Linked DNA regions of Homo sapiens: all the other regions are linked to region 1. Evidence: promoter capture Hi-C in 16 types of primary human blood cells and fetal thymus (Javierre and others, 2016). All regions are on one chromosome and are shown on one strand. The core of a region is centred on a gene start or on the middle of the fragment in contact, and the rest is flanking DNA. Distances in the headings are between cores, read along the strand shown. Region 1 holds the start of MXI1 (MAX interactor 1, dimerization protein). Region 2 overlaps RBM20 (RNA binding motif protein 20). Region 3 overlaps SMC3 (structural maintenance of chromosomes 3). Region 4 has its middle 18 kb from the start of SMC3. Region 5 overlaps XPNPEP1 (X-prolyl aminopeptidase 1). Region 6 overlaps XPNPEP1 (X-prolyl aminopeptidase 1). Region 7 has its middle 18 kb from the start of DUSP5.

Region 1 (2,605 bases), core at 50-2,549:
TGAAGCTGCCTTTGAGTAGGGTGGCTGCATCGCACACCTCCAGGGGGCAGCATTGTCTTTGTCCTCTATATAAATGGTTCCCCTGGAGGAAAACTCCAGGTGACCTTGCAAAGTAACCATATTTAGATGGGCTTGTCATAGAGATATTTTCCAAGGAAGTGCAGAAGAGTCTTGTTCACTACATCTTGTTCCTTTCTTAGATACAAGTTACATCAGAATAGGGGACTCAGGCTCTTGCCTGGGTCTGGATTGGAAGAAAAAGAGCTTACCATGGGCCAGAGTGTGCTAAGTCAGATACAATACACAAGCATCTTATCACACATTTCAATGATGTGGAAACTTAGGCCAAGAGAGGTTAAGGGACTTGTCCAAGCTCACACAGTCTGTATGCAGCAGAGCTGGGATTTGAACCCTTTCCTATGGCACCCTAGAGCAGCCTTCAATCATCCCCTGACACCTCCAGTACTTCCCAGGGCTGGAAAGCATCCATGATTGCGGACAGCAGTGGCAGTGAAACAATGTCAGCTGGGGTAGGGGTTTTCAGAGGCAAAAGGTGGAATTCAGCTGGGGAGGGGGGTGGTTCCTGAGCTGCCACTTCTGCCTCTCAAATTAAAGGGAGCCAGGTGTGGAGGCATCCTGGTGTGAGCTTTGCACAGCTGAACCAAGGCTGGGCAGAGGAGTGTGGAGAGGGATGCTGACATCTCCTCCCACTTCTGGAAAATAACTTTGCATTTGAAGGGAGAAAGGCATGAGTAAATCTGTAACTCGGATTTGGACGGCCTGGGATTTCATTTGACTGTGTGAAGGCACACACAGGTGCCTCGCAAGTGTGTGCGTGATTACGTATGTATGTGTGTCTGTGAGTAGGAGTGTTTGTGTTGGGGGTGGGGGGATCTTCTGGTTACACACTGGTTCCCTTCTTCCCATTTGGATTGGGGAGCTTTTATTTATTTATTTTTAAGTCATAGCAGCCACCATGTATGGGGACCTAACTATGTGCCAGGCATTGTGCTGGACACTTTCTGAGGCATTATTTTTCTGTGAAAAAAGTAGTTTGTTTTTATGCAGGTGCACCCAGAGACATCAGGTATTTTTTTCCATTCCGGTTAAAAGACAGTGTTCTACTCTGTGGTAAGCCTTGGGGAGAGGCAGGGAAGCCTGCGGGGACGGGCAGGGGCGGTCCCTGCCTCGCTCGCTAGTCTCCACCTTTTATTTTGACCGGTCCGATGGCGACAGGCTCGCACTAGGACCCAGGCGCCAGAGTGCCTCCGTCTGTCCTGTAGGTTCATTCAATCTCCCATACACACAGACTCACAGCGAGACCGACACACACTCCCATACACTCACACACACAACTGCAGGCAGCGAGGCTCGGGAAGTCAGGCCGGCTTTTCGCCCCGGCGCCTTCTCTGCTCCAGCCGGCCGGGTCTCCCTGGGGGCCCGGAGCTCGGCCGGGCCGCGCAGCCCCGTTAGAGGACGAGCTCGGCGGACCCCCGCTCCTCCATGGGCAAACGCGGGCGGCCGCGCAAGGAGGCGCGCTGCGAGGGCGCGGGGCTGGCCCCCGCCGCGCCCCCGGCTGTGCCCCCCGCCGTGGCCGCGCCCCAGCCCCCGGCCCTGCCCGAGGACCCCGCTGGGGCCAAGCCCAGGTGCCCCTTCTCAGACATTTTCAACACCAGCGAGAACTCGATGGAGAAGCACATCAACACTTTTCTGCAGAACGTGCAGATTCTGCTCGAGGCCGCCAGCTACCTGGAGCAGATCGAGAAAGAAAACAAAAGTAAGTTTGGGGGCCCCTGCTCTTCCTCGGCGCCCGGTTCTTTCTTTCTCGCCCACTTGGGCGACCCCTGTTGCGAGCTCGGCCCGTCCCCCCCCCGCCCAACATACACATCCAGCCCTTGGCAGTAAAGCCGATGACACCGGAGAAAGGACACGCACGCACAAAGCTGCTAAAGATGTAACAAAGACGGGCGAGGGGGAGAGGGGCCTGTCGGTGCGTCGGTCTGTCCTCTCCGGCGGGCTGGGGCTGGGAGGATGGCCCAGCGGAGGAGCGGGGGAGTGTTGTTGTTTGCTGACAACTGAGCCGAGAGCTCATCTCTTTGAGGTCGCTTTTCTTCCTTTTTTTTTTTTTTTTTTCCGGAGCCTTCTCAGGCAGACAAGTGTTGTTTTTCTGTTGCTCGTTCCTGGGTGGGGTGGGGATTAGAAGCCGAAAGTTGGAAACCATAGGCAGAGCTCAGAGGTTCCAGAAAGAAAACACACAGACACACACTACAACAATAACAACCAAACAGCTCTCCACGGCGTGGGCTCGGCTCTGTCTCTCTCTCTCCCTCCTACTTCGCCTTTTTCCTTCCCTCTAGCAGCAGGACTGGGCTCAGGCCATCACGTCTACGGACACAGTCCCCCTGCACGTCCGTTGCCGTGGGGTGCCACCGCCGCCCCCCCCCCCCCAAAGAAGGAGGCCGGCGGGGCCAAGCAACGCCAGCAGCTCGCCCCGGACACGCCGTCCTGAGCCCGGGAAACTTGGCCGTGGGGACGCGGCTAGAAGGAAACTTTGGGATCTTTGAGAAACAATAGTTGGGGAAGAAGGTGTGGGCTGTTCTGTGCT
Region 2 (2,605 bases), core at 53-2,552, 460 kb after region 1:
AGAACCCAGCCCCCTTTTCATCACTAATCTCGTAACACACAGGGCTTCATCCTGGCAGTGTCGATCTTTTCATTAGCCCTTTAAGAATGACTGGCAAATGCACTTGTTTGAGTCATTTGATCACCTGGGAAGTGTCTGGGAGCCATGCCTTGGAGTGCCTCACTGATCACAAAGCCATCCAGTGTGGCCTTTGATTCCTGGGCCCCTGGTGTCCTGCTCACTTTACCCCCCATGCATGTGACCTGCCCACTTTCTGGGGCTTGGGTGTGAGTGAGTGGTGCAGGGAAGCTAAGCCAGAGGGAGCCCTGATTTACGAACTGTCCGGATTTAACTGAGGCTACAGCACTTTTATTAATAGAACATGCTGCATTTCCTTTTTATAAAAATATGAAGATCACTGCGCTCAGGAAAATGCCTGGTGACTTTCTGTCTTTAGGGCATGTTCATCACCAGGCTAAAATTAAAAGTGAAGTCAGGCCCTTCTTGCATCTATTTTTAACTAAGTTTAGCATATGAATGTGAACGTGAAGTCTTTCTTTAGATCCCCCTAACTCAATTACTGACGTATGCCAAGCATCCCGCCTGGAATTCCAGAGCTGTGTCTGGGGCTACCTTGGGTGGGGAGGCCAAAAGGGAATTAGGGACCACTAGCCTAGCCCCCTGCTATCTGACTGTGTGCGTCTTCACCCATCTCAGCTTCACTTACTTTGGAAGGTTAAGGTGCAGCCAGTCATAATACTGAAAAGCATAAAACAAGGGAAAAACTAACCAAACCAACCAACCTATGGCCATTTTGTGATGCGTAAAGTCTCCCCTAATTGGCACATATTTTTCTAGGGGGCTCCAATTTAGAAGCAGCGACTTGGGTTGAAGGGGAGACACTGGATTATAGGGGAGACCTTGTCATTCAAGCAGAAATTGCGAATGGCCCCAACATACCAAGGGAGACTTGGGACAACAGGTGGAGGGAGGGAGAGGAAAAAAAAAACTGAACAAGTGTCGTTCCTGCCCAGAGAGTTTGCGATGAGTGATGAGAGTGCCAGAGAAACCTTTTAGAAACCCTCTTAAATTCCCTCTTTGAAATCTTTTTCATGTCTGCTCTTTGAGGACTGTGAAGAGAGGGGAGGGTAGAGGCAGAGTTGATCCCAACTCTTAAGATTCTTTGGCCTAATGTTTCACTTGAAGGCAGAGACTGACGAAGTTCTTTTTTGAACTTCTTAGGACAGTTCCCTGTGGTTACTTTTTTAGTATAACAATTAAAAAAAAAAAAACCAAAAAACCTACTGATCATTTTAAGTCCTGGCCCTTGCTTTGTTTTGTTTGAAAAGTGACTTTTAAAATGGTGACTTTTATGGAAAACATATTTACAGTTTGTTAAAGTTGTGTCATTTCTCTTTGCATGTTTACATGTATGTGTATTTAACTTAGTTGTCTTGAACCTCATAAAGGTGTTGTGGTTTTTAAGCAGAGGAAAATCTTCCTTCGTTTTTTCTGGAATAGCAGCAAAGCCATGATGGAGAATAAGCAGAAGATTAATTTAAAATACTGGTTACTTTGGCTAATCCACTGACGGTGAGCTTGCTTATGGCTGGAGAACTATGAAAGTGTTTCCAGATAGCCTGAGAGGGAAGCACTGGGAAGGAGTGTGGCAAGTCTGTATGCGTGTGGCGGGGTAGGGGGGACAGGGTTGTCTTTTGGGGAATAGGAATGATATTTAAACGACCAGCTCCTCCATGTATTATTTGGATTTTCTGTTAAAAGCAATAAACTTGAAGTAAGACGTGTTTACAGGCCACTACAATCTATCTGAAAAGCCTCTTATGGTTTTTTGCCTCCCATTCAAAAACCACTTACGTGATTGTATGTGCCTTTCAACAAAACTTTGGATTCAATTACAACACTTGTAGGCTCAGAAGATTGCTTTCAAATCTGAAAACTTTGCACCTTCACTTGGTTACAGTACTTTTTAAAAAATGGAGATACGGTCTTGCTGTGTTGCTCAGACTGGTGTCCAAACCCTGGGCTCAAGCGGTCCTCCAGCTTTGGCCTCCCAAAGTGTTGGGATTACAGGCATGAGCCACTGTATCTGGCCTGGTTGTAGTACATTTCAAGGGACTGGCTTTCCCAGCCAAACTGACATTTTTGGGTCTGTCCAGTTAGTAAAAGGTAGGGATTGGGGTGGCAAGAGTTGTACATTGACACAGTTCTTAAGCACACAGTGACTAAAAGGTACTCTACTGGCTTTTGGAGAAGGCTTAGAACTTGGTCAATCGACAAACTCCTGATTAAAGGTTGCTGAATTAAAAATAATATGCCATTTCTTTGAAACCATTCGATTTCACCCTATTTAGTTGTTCCAGAAATGTTTGCTTTGGTTTTAACCATGACCCAACTTTATTTAGTAAGTCTAATAATTCATCTCTTTGAAACCTTTTAGTTTCCACCTTATTTTTTTTTTGAAGAGTGATTTTTTTAGATGGTGATTTTTGTGTGAAATAATATTTACAGTTTGTTAAAGTGGTATCATCTCTCTTTGCACGTTTACATGAATGTGTATTCAATGCATGTTGTCTTGAGTTGAGAATTTTTGTCTTGATTTTTCCTT
Region 3 (2,605 bases), core at 54-2,553, 390 kb after region 1:
GATTTATAACTTCTGTGCCATCAGTGCAAGCACAGAAAAAGAAAAATAAGCACCTGAGCTTTGACCTTGCAGGGGTCTGCATATCGCACTTTAAAGAACTGCCTGAATTTGGCAAGATGTTAACACAAAGAGCGTATGGGGAAATACTGAGGAAAAGGAGGATGTTGACAGTGTATACCAGCTGTCTTCCTGTGTTTGATAATCCAGCTAGATTGAATTATTCCACACATGGCAAGAACTCTTCATACATAAACCCTTAACATAGTGCCTTAAGCATAGTAACAGTAAACATTTGTTGAATGAAAAGATATTTAAAAGTATGTAATATTGTTAGATTTCACCTAACCTCCTTTATGGTTTTCCAAGAATTTGTTTTGTATAACTTTTAGTAAAACAGTATACATGTTATTCTGAGAGTGAAATGGGGTGAAATGTTTCAAGCTTCTTTATGATTGAATGCATTTTGGGTAATATAGTTCAGCATTGTTTTGGTCCATAAATTTGAGGACATAAATGTTATTTGGGGGTAAAGAAAAGGAAGGGATACATGGTGTTGTGTCTAAAAAGAATTAAGAACATACGATATATTTACAACCTGGAGATAATTTTCCTTAGCCTTGTATATGGATTAATAATGAAATTGATCAGTTGATGAACCAAATGCAACAGATCGAGACCCAGCAAAGGAAATTTAAAGCATCTAGAGATAGCATATTATCAGAAATGAAGATGCTAAAAGAGAAGAGGCAGCAGTCAGAGAAAACCTTCATGCCTAAGGTTCGTAAGTATATCTTTGGTTATAGATCGATTGTTACAGATTAATAATATGGAAATATGAATCATACATTATATGGGTTATCCTTGAATTTTATGTTTCATTTTTGTTTGGACCCATACTTTTTTTTTTTGAAGACAGAGTCTCTTTCTGTCTCACCCAGGCTGGAGTGCAGTGGTGCGTTCTCAGCTCACTGCAGCCTCCACCTCCTGGGTTCAAGCGATTTTCCTGTCTCAGCCTCCTGAGTAGCTGGGACTACAGACATACGCCACCACATCCGGCTAATTTTGTGTTTTTAGTAGACATGGGGTTTCACCATGTTGTCCAGGCTTGTCTCAAACTCCTGACCTCAGATGATCCACCTGCCTTGCCCTCCCGAAGTGCTGGGATTACAAGTGTGAGCCACTGTGCCCAGGCTAGACCCATACTTTTGGATATCTACATCTATTTTACCATTCTTAAACCCATGGATACCCAAAGTCTCCTATTGTTGGCACGTTCAAACTTTCCACCTTCATTGAACAAATAGGCATTTGAAGCTGTGACATAAGAGTACTGTCTGATGGTCAGTTTTTGTCAGTAACCATTTTTATCTGAAGCACAATGGAATTAGTTGAATATTTGATTCCGTTTTGTCCAGATTGTATTAAAATTAGAAAGCAAACTTATAAGTGATAGTGTGTTATTGGTCTCATAAACTTGACAGTTTTGACAAATCTTTTACTTAGTATAATACTAAAACTACAAAGAGCTTAAAAAAAAAAAAAAAGATGTGCCTACAGTTGTACCATCCCAACCATATTCTGACAACTTTTTATTTTTTGAGGGGGATGGAGTCTCGCCCTATCGCCCAGGCTGGAGTGCAATGGCGTGATCTCGGCTTACTGCAACCTCCACTTCCTGGGTTCAAGCAATTCTCCTGCCTCGGCCTCCAGAGTAGCTGGGATTGCAGGCGTGTGCCTCCACACCCAGCTAATTTTTGTATTTTCAGTATAGACGGGTTTCACCATGTTGGCCAGGCTCGTCTCGAACTCCTGACCTCGTGATCCACCCACCTTGGCCTCCCAAAGTGCTGGGGTTACAGGCGTGAGCCACTGCGCCCGGCAACTTTTTGTTCTTATAATATGCCTGAAGATTTTTGTATAGTTTAATCATGGAATATGATCTGCCCCACCCTGCCCCACCTATACTATTACATCATATTTTTCTTGTTGCTAGAGTCCTAATTACCAAATTAATAGGCACCTAATATTTGAGTTGATATGTCTATATATTTAGCTCAATCAAATATAGATTGTTTTAAAATTTTCACTATAAGTAATACAGTGGCTAATACCTTACTAATAAATGGATAATGTCATATAGCAACGTAGCTTACAGAGTTTGGAGGCAAGCTTGCATGCTATGGAGTCTACCAGAGAGTCATTGAAAGCAGAACTGGGAACTGATTTGCTTTCTCAACTGAGTTTGGAAGATCAGAAGAGAGTAGATGCACTGAATGATGAGATTCGTCAACTTCAGCAGGTAAGTAGACAGCTGACTGGAAAAAGAATTCGTTAGTAATTGGCTATTGTGAAAAGGGCCTTTCTTGCTAACTAGGGCAATATGAAAGAAAAGAACTGAGAAAATATTAAAATGAGGCTTGGACTTTTAATATACATAGGAGTAAATAAGATTTTGTTTTTCTAAACCAATCTAGCTAGGTTAGGATTATACAAGAAATTTTCATTTCCTTAAAATTTAGTTAATTAGCATTACTTATTAGTTGTAAGTATTGCTATGAGTTTGAGCTTGTTAGCCTTACCATATTTATCTTACTGCCTTTACATA
Region 4 (2,605 bases), core at 34-2,533, 340 kb after region 1:
TTTTCAAAATTCGTCAATTATTCAATTGCCAGTTCCAACAGTTTATCCTGTAGAGTTAAATTGTCTTTCAATGAAAGCAACAGATTATGGATCTATGAATTTCCCATGCACGAATCTTCTTTTGATGGAAATAAAATGTAAATGTCCCATAACTTGTTTGACCATAACATTTTACAGATATGCAATATCAAGATTATCACTAACATCACTGATAATTGTTGCTAAACTATGGGGCATGTTGTAACAGTCTCTGGATATTCTGTTCTTCCAAGCTTCTGTCATTTTTGCCCTTCAATCTTCTTTGCCATTGAAAATCATGCTGCATTTTTTCTCCCTGCTTAGAAGTAGTAAAAGCATTTAAAATGCCAAAAATATCACACAAAGAAGCATGCCTATTGTCCCAAACCACATTGGGACCTTATAAAGATGTTTGTTTTACTTTCTAGGAACACTAAGAGTTTGTTTCACAGTCAAACATTCCTAATAGTACTTTTCTCTTCAGTAAGCATCGTATCTCACCTACAACAGTTGTTTATGATCAGCTTCCATATGAACACATATTATAATAAAGAGAATAATCTCGAATTTCATGCATTATCCTTTGCATAACTATTTTTTTGCTATGTAACTACACAACTAGACACTGTTTAATTCAGCTAACATTTTTTCATTGTAAAACTTTCCTGATTAAAAAAAGCAGTGCATTGATTTACATTCTTCAAACTTAGTATGCTTTTCTGTCAATGAAGCTGCACATTAAAGCATCTTCCTACAGCAGTCTTAAACCACATTCCTTGACAGTGTAATCCTTTATAGTTTTATACATTTAGGACTAGTTGTGCTTGTCATCAATGAAACTGAAAAAAATTCTTCCACTATGTTTGAATTGCATATATACTACATTAATTGTCATTTTAGCAGTATGTGGGCATTCAATAACTTGCAATGAAAACGACTTTGCTAGCCGTGTATCTGTGAGTTAATCTGCCATGTCATTAGCTAGTTACTGAATTCGTCTAGTTATGAAAAACGACATTTGAGTTACTTTATTTGCCACAGTCACCCATAATTTCAAAGATCTTTGATACAGTCTTGTGCTAAAGTCTTCTTTTTTAAATTTTCGCATCCCCAAATGCTGCTTTATAAGATGCTCATACATTACTAATGTTTATATGTGAAATATTGAACATCTGTTCTTATGAGTTTTTTAAATTCAACATTCTTTCAAGGTATTCTTTAGGTTTTGAATTTACTTCTTTTGTTTTCTATGTAAATGCTACATAAGGTTGATGGTCTTATGAGCTTTATTAGCTAGCATATCTCTACAAATAACATACTATAGTTTTAGAATATTAGTGTCAATTATGGCTACAAAACTGAACTCAATATGTGAGGAATTATACTTCTGAGTAAAACTAGTACAAACTCTTTTCGTAGTAGTTTAATTTCCTTGGAATCACTTCCATAGACATCATCTGTTTTACTATTGGTGCTGCTGTGCATTAGCAAAGGTGTGTCTTTTCTTGATGAAAACAAGTCTAGTGAAGTTTGCTTTGTCACCTCTAAATTACAGTTAAAAATTATTATGAAAGTCTGCTTCCTAATTTAGCTAATATTTTTGTTATTTATTTTTTCAATTTGAAAGCAATCACTGTTTATTAACTGATCAGATTACAGAAATAATTGTGGCACACACCATAGTTCATCCTTCTAAGGAGCTTTTTGATCTGGTTGTCCCTGTTGCCAGCATCTCCACCTTCTACAAAATAGGTGGTCTTTTCCTTCATTCCTCCTCATGGAGAAGATAATTTGAAAGGCCTGAGGAAGTTATTTGCTTCTTTGAAGCATTTTCCAACAGCACAGACCTCATGAATCAGATCCTCTGCACAGATGATTCCATATTTACCAAGAGATCAAGCCATCAAAGTGTTATCTGTCAAGACAATTTGCTTCATATTGATTTTGCTGTAACCACACTTGGAGACTAGTTCATTTACTGAATTCAGGTTCGGAGACTCTCATGCAATATATGGTTCTACAATCCTCAGCATGTAAATTGAAGCACTGTTGAACTTAACAAAGTTTCTGATGAAGATCTGACAAGGCAAAGAAGCTGCCACACCTTTCGGACCCTTGGGCTGCCACCACTGAGACCTCTGATCCTAATGATCAATGCCAATTTGGGTTCTGCAGGTACACAGAAGTTGCCAGCTTTTCTTGCCATTCTAGCCATTCATATCTCAGTTCTATACATCTGTCTATATTCCTAGTGATAGTGTTTAGCTTCTTCATAGATAAGCTTCCTTCCTTCCTTTCGAAGCATCCTTTGGGCAAACTTTTTTCTCTGGCACTTGATCTTCAGCTCTGCAAAATGCCTTCACTTTTACTTAAAGGTTTCTGGCACAGCAGGAGCCTTCTTTTTCTTCTCTTCAACACTCTCCCTGGTTCCACCCAGAAAACTGAAGATTTTAAAATTATAAACTAAAAAAAATTAGTTTTTACAAAAACATTATATGTAATAAGTAAAAACAACAAAATATCAAAAGAAATAAATGCTTTTGTTTTCTCAGATTTTTACATGCCTTTGGCTTTCAGTTGACCGACT
Region 5 (2,605 bases), core at 64-2,563, 330 kb before region 1:
ATGGGTTCTTGTAGACCACGTGGTAAAAAAACCACATACTGGGATGCCAGGCTTCAGGCTCAGGGGGACAGGAAGAGAGGGTACTGATTATCTCTCCACCCAAAACAGGTTGCCTCACAACCTACTACTAAGTTTTTTTTTGGTATGGAACTGATGGAGCTCACAAGATGTATGGACTAGTACAAAACAGCTGCTGTTACCAAGAAAGAAAACTACTCAAAAATTCCAGTCATGGGCCAAGCACAGTGGCTCACACCTGTAATTCCAGCACTTTAGGAGGCTGAGGCAGGAGGATTGCTTGAGTCCAGAAATTCGAGACAAGCCTGGGCAACACATCAAGATCCTCATCTCTACAAAAAAATCTAAAAATTAGCCAGGAGTGGTAGCACATGCCTATAGTCCCAGCTACTCAGGAGGCTGAGGCAGGAGGATTGCTTGAGTCTAGGAGTTCAAAGTTGCAGTGAGTTGTGATGGCACCACTGCGCTCCAGCCTGGGCAGCAGAGCAAGACCTTGTCTCCAAAAAAAAAAAAACTTAGTCATCAAGATGCAAGGGCTATGCATACAGTTCCTGCAGCTTCAAAAAGGAAAGAGGGACACCCATCTGACTACCCTGCAGAGAATGCCAGTGCCATACTGAGCCTAAGAAGAGGCTCCCAAAAGGCAGAGGCTTGGGGATTGGGAGAAAATAAAATCTTAGAAGTCTTATTTCCCTTCATTTTACAGTCTCAACAGACAGATGAAGGTGGGCACAGAGGCCTCTGGTAAAATAATGTCTCTCCCCTGCTCAGGCTCCTGTGCAGAAGCAGCAAGGCCAGGCAGCATGCTCCTCCGCATGCCTTACGCGTAGTGAATGATGGCGCCGTTGGGTCCCGTACTGGAAATTGTTGGGAAGCTCAGGTCCACAAAGTCTGCCTGTTGCCTGTAACAGAAAGACAGAAAGCAGAGTGGCTTAAAGGTTTTTACTGTGCTAAGATTCAGGGCCCTTCCAGCCTCATTCAACTAGCAAGAAAATCAGCACGAGGCTCCTGGGTCCCCCCAAATGGATCCTTACCTGCGAAACTCCTCAGCTTTGTCAGCAGCTGAGATCTCTGTCACACCACCTTTGGGAACCTATGAGAAAATTGCTTATAAATCATCTGGTGAGATAAATTCATGTGTGCCTCTTACAAATTAGAGGAGGTACATTAAAAGCTCACTTTTTCCTCAATTGCTTCATCCCAACTGACCAATCTACAGGACACATCTTTAGCAAGGGAGAACTCCCAAAGGCTCTCACCAAAGCTATCTAAAATCCAATAGTTTCTATTCATTTAATTTTTCACTCAACTATTGTGCTTCAGTATTTTATCCTAAAACCTCCCAAAACAACATATCTAAGTTTAAAAATTCAAAAGCATCCCCTCCTAAGAAATCATCGTAAGAAAATCATTCTAGAGAAATAAAAAAGATAAATGCGGAGAGATTATTGCAGGATTACTGATAACAGCAAAAAATTAAAAACAACCCAAACATTTAAAAATAGGAGGACTGGGTTAGTAAATCAGAAGAGCCACTAGATGCAGTTTTCATTTGGATCCTTTTTTAAGGCCTCAATGTACATGGAAAATGTTCACACTATGATTCTAAGAGAATAAAATAAAACACAAAATCATATCTAAGCCAGGTGTGATGGCTCACACCTATAATCCTAGCACTTTGGGAGGCCAAGATAGGTGGATCGCTTGAGCCCAGGAGTTTCAGATCAGCCTGGGCAACATGGCAAAACCTTATCTCTACAAAAAAATCAGAAAAAATCAGGTGGGCTGTAGTCCCAACTAATCGGGAGGCTGAGGTGGGAGGATCACCTGAGCTTGGGGAGGCTGAGGCTGCAGTGAGCTGTGATCACACCACTACTCTCCAGCCTGTGCAACAGATGAGACCCCATCTCAAAATAAGAAAAAAAAAAAGAAAAAAAATTTATCTGCACACTAAGAGACATGTAAAAATAATTTATATTTTTAAAAATAATTTACGGCCAGGCACGGTGGCTCACGCCTGTAATCCCAGCACTTTGGGAGGCCGAGGCGGGCGGATCACAAGGTCAGGAGATCGAGACCATCCTGGCTAACACAGTGAAACCCCGTCTCTACTAAAAATACAAAAAATTAGCCAAGCATGGTGGCGGGCGCCTGTAGTCCCAGCTAGTCGGGAGGCTGAGGCAGGAGAATGGCGTGAACCCAGGAGACGGAGCTTGCAGTGAGCCGAGATCGCTCCACTGCACTCCAGCCTGGGCGATGGAGCAAGGCTCTGTCTCAAAAATAAAAAAAAATAATAAAAATGTAATAATAATAATTTACATAAAGTCCAGGCATGGTGGCTCATGCCTGTAATCCCAGCACTTTGGGAGGCCGAGGTGGGTGGATCACAAGGTCAGGAGTTCAAGACCAGCCTGGCCAAGATGGTGAAACCCCATCTCTACTACAACTACGAAAATTAGCCAGGCGCAGTGGCAGGCGCCTATAATCCCAGCTACTTGGGAGGCTAAGGCAGGAGAATCTCTTGAACCTGGGCAGCAGAGGTTGCAGTGAGCCGAGATCACACCACTGCACTCCAGCCTGGGTGACA
Region 6 (2,605 bases), core at 31-2,530, 310 kb before region 1:
AACCACCCACTTCTCTCCATTTCTAATAGCAGCACTCAGTCCAAGCCTCCATCATCTCTACCTGGACTACCGCCCCTACAATCCACTCTGCACATACACTCAGAGTGAGCTTTTCCAAATATCTAAGATCATGTTAGCAACCTCCTTAAAACCCTCCAATGGCTTCCTATTATATTTAAGATAAAATCCAAACTCTGGCCCAGTCAAGGTACCAGCTGATCTGACTTTGCCAGTCCTCTTGCAGCTCTGCTCCCATTCACCATGCTCCAGACACACCCACCTCCTTTCTGCTCTTTGCATATCCTGAGCTCATTCCTGCCTCAAGGCCTTGGCACATGTGCTTCCTTGTGCCTATAAAAGTATTTCTGATCATGGTATGGCTAGGTCCTTCTCATCATTACATTTGAGATCAAATATCACCTCTACAGAGAGGCCTACCTGTACTACCCAGCTATAATAGCCACCTGGCCACTTTTAAGTCTCTGTATAGCACACACATACTCTAGATATTTGTCTTTTTTTTTTTTTTTTTCTTTTGGAGACAGGATCGCCTTCTGTTACCCTAGCTAGAGTGTGGTGACACAATTATGGCTCATTGTATCCTTGACCTGTCAGGTTCAAGCAATCCTCCCACCTCAATCTTCTCAATAGCTGGGACTACAGCAGGCACACACCTTTTTTTTTTTTTTTTTTGTAGAAACGGGGTTTTACCACGTTGCCAGGCTGGCCTTGAACTTCTGGGCTCAAGTGATCAGCCTGCCTCAGCCTCCCAAAGTGCTAGGATTACAGGCAAGAGCCACCATGCTGGGCAATGTTTCTCTTCTTAATGAACTTTTTATATGTTTATTGTCTTGTTCCTCAACCCCCATCTTAACCCCAAGCATATAAGTTCCATGAGATCAGGGTATCTGTCCTGTCCCTGCACTCAGCACAGGTGACTAGATCCTCAACCCACATTTGTATTATAAATGAACAAGCAGAAAGAGACATGAAGCTTTTCCCTACATCCAGTTAAAACCTCAACCATATCTACGAAGATGGACGAAGGGACCATGAGCCAAGGAATGCAGGTGGCCTCCAGAAACTGGAAAAGGCAAGGAAATGGACTCTCCCTGGAGCCTGCAGAAGTAACATAGCCCTGCTGACCCATTTTAGACTTCAGACTTCCAGAACCATAAGAGAATAAATTTGTTTTAAGTCACTGTGGTAATTTGTTATAGCAGTGATAGGAAACTAATACATTATCTAATGGGGAAAAGATCGTAAGGGATTATAAATGGGGTTTCAAATTCAAATACCTCAGGGTACAGGACAAAGGATATCTTTTCTAAAGACAGCAGCTCCTACTCAGCTCTGATTTCTGAAATGCAGGCCACATGTTGCTAACCTTCAATATTTCAGAAGAAGCCAGAAATATGGGTTCATGAGAAATTACCCAATTTTTAAATGTTGGCATCTAATTCCAACAATATAAACAATACATAGCCAAATAAAGCATCTGTAAACTACAAAAAAAAAAAAAGCTAGTCATCTCTCAAAAATCTGGTTCAAGTGCTCCCTTTTCCATGAAGCTTCCTGACCCACTTCAGCTTTCAGAGGCTCCCACATTTCTGAATTTTACAGGACCATCCATGTTGGCACTTATCCATACCCTACCTTGGATAATGCTGACAAATAATGTTAGCTAAGATTATTTAGTCTGTATTGTTTATTATTGTCTCAACACCTACTAGTCAATAACTGTATTCATTTCCTCTCATTCTAATCCTCACAGCAGCCCTGGAAGGTATCATCCCTCGCTAATCTACAGATGAAAAAAATGAAGCTTAGAGAAATAACTAACTTCCCCAAGGTAACACCACAGTAAATGGCAGAACCAAGATCTGAACTCAGGTCTGACTTTTTTTTTTTTTAAGATGGGGTCTTGCTTTGTCGCCTGGGCTGGAGTGCAGTGGCGCAATCTAGGCTCACTACAACCTCCACCTCCCAGGTTCACGCGATTCTCATGCCTCAGTCTCCCAAGTAGCTGGGATTACAGGCGCCCACCACCACACCCAGCTAATTTTGGTATTTTTAGTAGAGACAGGGTTTTGCCATGTTGGTCAGGCTGGTCTCGAACTCCTGACCTCAAGTGATCCGCCTGCCTCGACCTCCCAAAGTGCTGGGATTATGGACATGAGCCACTGCACCCAGCCTCAGGTCTGACTTTCGAAAGCCCATACCCTTGCAAGCTGCCAAGCAACCTCTTCTACTTTTGTACAGAAGTTGTACACATCTAGTCTCACAATTGGATTATAAATTCTGAGGGAACAAGGAATACGAGGTGTATGCTGCACTTACCTCTACTTTCATCAGCCACAGAATAGACATCTCCTACAACCAGCAGTTAGAACTCTGTTCAAGCCTGGTTCCCCACTTACTAGCTGGGTGAACCTGGGGCTCAACTTCCTCATCTGTAAAATGGGGATGAACATAATGCCCACCTTGAAGGGTTGAGGTGTGACATAAAGCAATTAGCGCATGCCGAACATCTGATGAACTGCAGCACTTATTGCTATGAACTGCACCGAGCTTGACTCTATAGCAAACATAAGAAACTATCTTC
Region 7 (2,605 bases), core at 70-2,569, 310 kb after region 1:
CTTCTAGGCTCTAGCTTCATCTTCTATCTGTGGTTCAGCACAACCTTGTACCCAAGCTCCTCAGATTTGCCAGCCTGTGGTTATGGCTGTGTTACTGTGCCAGCAATCCACACCCTACTCAGCCCACCCCTTAGTCTCTCTTGCATTGTTCATTAATTTTTTTTTTTTTTTTTTTTTTTTTTTTTTTTTTTTTTTTTTTTTTAGAGGGAGTCTTGCCCTGTCGCCCAGGCTGGAGCGCAGTGGCCCCATCTCAGCTCACTGCAACCTCCACCTCCTGGGTTCAAGCAATTCTCCTGCCTCAGCCTCCCAAGTAGCTGGGATTACAGGCATGTGCCACCATGCCCGGCTGATTTTTGTATTTTTAGTAGAGACAAGGTTTTACCATGTTGGCCAGGCTGGTCTTGAACTCCTGACCTTGTGATCCACCCTCCTCAGCCTCCCAAAGTGCTGGGATTACAGGCGTGAGCCACTGCGCCTGCCTATAAATGTTTTTATATCTCATTTTTACAGATGCACAAACTGAACCTCAGAAATATTAAGTAACTTGCCCAAAGTCACACAGTTAGCAAAAGGTAGAGCTCGAATGAAGCTATTTCATTGATCTTGTACCCCTCTGAACACCTGGGGTATATAATAGGTACTTCTGTCCATTGGGCTTTTGTTTGCAAGGAAGTCTCCTCAGTCTACTTTAAGGAAAAGTGTTTGTGGATAAATGCAAATAGCACTGAATCCCCAGTTATATTCCATTCCAGCCACATTGGCTTTCTGACAATCCCTTAAACATGCCAACATCCCTCCTGCCTCAGGACCTTTGCACATGCTGGTCCCTCTGACTGGAATCTTTCTCCTATAAATTCCCCCTCCAACCGATTAACTCATACTGGTTTTTCGCCTCTCAGTTCAAAATTCACCTTGCCAGGAAAGCCCTCCCAGACTAGGTCAGATGTCCCTATTGGCTCTCATAGTCTTCTATATCTTTTCTTCGTATTTCATCAAAGTTTAAAAATTTTTCATTTCTCTGTGATTATTTTATTAACGTCATCTCCTTCAGACTAGAAACACCGGGAGAACAGAGATTACATTGCATTTCAAGAGTAACCAAGGACAGGGTCTGACTTATCCTAGGTATTCAATGAGTACTGGTTGAGTGAAGGAGTGAAGAAGTGACAAACAGAATGAAACGCTGGTCAGAAGCAGAAGCTGTTCTCTCCGTTTCTCTCAGAGCCCCTATGACCCTCCAAACGTGAGTTTCTTTATCCTGGACCTATTTGCCAGTTCCTCCCCAATCCTGGAGGAAGCAGATTCCCAGCCTTAGCTAATTACTGCTACCTTATTGGTCAGAGGCCATGGTACCCCCTCACCTCGTTGGTCACTGGTCAGCCTACGGCTGGGCTGCCCTTGGGTCAGATGCCCACCCTGGGATCAATCGGTTTCCTCTAAGTTCAGAGACCTGCCTCGCTCAGACTCTGAGACTTGAGCGTTCCATAAGAAGTCCCCAGAAAACTGCCATAAAGAAAAACCCTACCGATCACTTGAGCCCAGGAGGTTGAGGCTGCAGTGAACCATGATCACACAACTGCACTCTAACCTGGGCGATAGAGCGAGGCCTTGTCTCAAAATAAATAATAAAACAACCCTTCCCTGCTTGCCCCAAAGTGATCAATTGTGGTAACTAAATTTTATTTTGTTTTCTTTTTTTATTTTTTATGGTTTTTTTTTTTTTTTTTTTTGAGACGGAGTCTCGCTGTCGCCCAGGCTGGAGTGCAGTGGCGCAATCTCGGCTCACTGCAGGCTCCGCCCCCTGGGGTTCACGCCATTCTCCTGCCTCAGCCTCCCGAGTAGCTGGGACTACAGGCGCCCGCCACCTCGCCCGGCTAATTTTTTGTATTTTTAGTAGAGACAGGGTTTCACCGTGTTAGCCAGGATGGTCTCGATCTCCTGACCTTGTGATCCGCCCGCCTCGGCCTCCCAAAGTGCTGGGATTACAGGCGTGAGCCACCGCGCCCGGCCTTTATGTATTTATTTTTGAGATGGAGTCCTGCTCTGTCATCCAGGCTGGAGTGCAGTGACACAATCTTGGCTGACTGCAGCCTCCGCCTCCCGGGTTCAGGTGATTCTCATGCCTCAGCCTCCCCCAGTAGCTGGGATTACAGGCGTGTAGCACCATGCCTGGCCTTTTTTTTTTTTTTTTTCGGTATTTTTAGTAGAGACGAGGTTTCACCATGTTAGCCAGTCTGGTCTCGAACTCCTGACCTCAAGTGATCCACCTGCCTTGGCCTCCCAAAGTGCTGGGATTACAGGTGTGAGCCACTGTGCCCGGCCATGGTAACTGAAATTTAAATCCTGGTTCATTTGTACTAGTAGGTCCGATCCCTTCCCACTATTCCATCACCCATCCCCAGTACACACCCGTTCACTTACGAAGTTTACAGAAACCAAGAAGCCACCAAACAGGGGCTTAAAGCAGGCCCTTGAAGTATCTGTGCATTTTTCATTCTGGGCTTCTTCCAGAGGTGAGGAGAAAATGTTTTGGTTAAAAGGAACTAACCTCCCAAATGGTGAAGCCTCATATATGTCACCATGGTAGAAAGATGAAAAACTATCC

The links. Contacts are between HindIII fragments. The CHiCAGO score rates a contact against its expected background, and 5 or more counts as called.
Region 2: a contact is called between a fragment that was not itself captured here and the fragment with the promoter of MXI1 in region 1, in 2 of 17 cell types (M1 macrophages and fetal thymus). The highest score is 5.6, in M1 macrophages.
Region 3: a contact is called between a fragment that was not itself captured here and the fragment with the promoter of MXI1 in region 1, in 10 of 17 cell types (neutrophils, activated CD4 T cells, M1 macrophages and 7 more). The highest score is 10.2, in neutrophils.
Region 4: a contact is called between a fragment that was not itself captured here and the fragment with the promoter of MXI1 in region 1, in 12 of 17 cell types (neutrophils, activated CD4 T cells, naive CD8 T cells and 9 more). The highest score is 11.0, in neutrophils.
Region 5: a contact is called between a fragment that was not itself captured here and the fragment with the promoter of MXI1 in region 1, in 3 of 17 cell types (fetal thymus, activated CD4 T cells and monocytes). The highest score is 7.3, in fetal thymus.
Region 6: a contact is called between a fragment that was not itself captured here and the fragment with the promoter of MXI1 in region 1, in 9 of 17 cell types (erythroblasts, megakaryocytes, activated CD4 T cells and 6 more). The highest score is 9.3, in erythroblasts.
Region 7: a contact is called between a fragment that was not itself captured here and the fragment with the promoter of MXI1 in region 1, in 1 of 17 cell types (activated CD4 T cells). The highest score is 6.0, in activated CD4 T cells.

What each region holds. Positions count from the first base shown.
Region 1 is chr10:110,206,306-110,208,910 of GRCh38, forward strand. It overlaps MXI1 (MAX interactor 1, dimerization protein), which reads left to right and starts at 1,300. Exons shown (of 6, transcript NM_130439.3): 1 at 1,300-1,777. The coding sequence starts at 1,504. RefSeq lists a silencer at 1,471-1,550. The HindIII fragment of the contact is 6,685 bases long and covers 1-2,605 here.
Region 2 is chr10:110,667,630-110,670,234 of GRCh38, forward strand. The region is part of intron 1 of RBM20 (RNA binding motif protein 20); the gene reads left to right. Among named protein-coding and RNA genes, the nearest start is that of RBM20, 25 kb to the left of the region's middle. The HindIII fragment of the contact is 7,690 bases long and covers 1-2,605 here.
Region 3 is chr10:110,597,514-110,600,118 of GRCh38, forward strand. It overlaps SMC3 (structural maintenance of chromosomes 3), which reads left to right. Exons shown (of 29, transcript NM_005445.4): 20 at 626-777; 21 at 2,141-2,299. Among named protein-coding and RNA genes, the nearest start is that of SMC3, 31 kb to the left of the region's middle. The HindIII fragment of the contact is 1,728 bases long and covers 440-2,167 here.
Region 4 is chr10:110,548,415-110,551,019 of GRCh38, forward strand. It overlaps the pseudogene RPL7P35. Among named protein-coding and RNA genes, the nearest start is that of SMC3, 18 kb to the right of the region's middle. The HindIII fragment of the contact is 2,027 bases long and covers 271-2,297 here.
Region 5 is chr10:109,876,948-109,879,552 of GRCh38, forward strand. XPNPEP1 (X-prolyl aminopeptidase 1) reads right to left here. Exons shown (of 21, transcript NM_020383.4): 13 at 1,053-1,111; 14 at 843-920. Among named protein-coding and RNA genes, the nearest start is that of XPNPEP1, 45 kb to the right of the region's middle. The HindIII fragment of the contact is 6,015 bases long and covers 1-2,605 here.
Region 6 is chr10:109,895,759-109,898,363 of GRCh38, forward strand. The region is part of intron 3 of XPNPEP1 (X-prolyl aminopeptidase 1); the gene reads right to left. Among named protein-coding and RNA genes, the nearest start is that of XPNPEP1, 26 kb to the right of the region's middle. The HindIII fragment of the contact is 577 bases long and covers 993-1,569 here.
Region 7 is chr10:110,514,299-110,516,903 of GRCh38, forward strand. No RefSeq gene overlaps it. Among named protein-coding and RNA genes, the nearest start is that of DUSP5, 18 kb to the left of the region's middle. The HindIII fragment of the contact is 7,392 bases long and covers 1-2,605 here.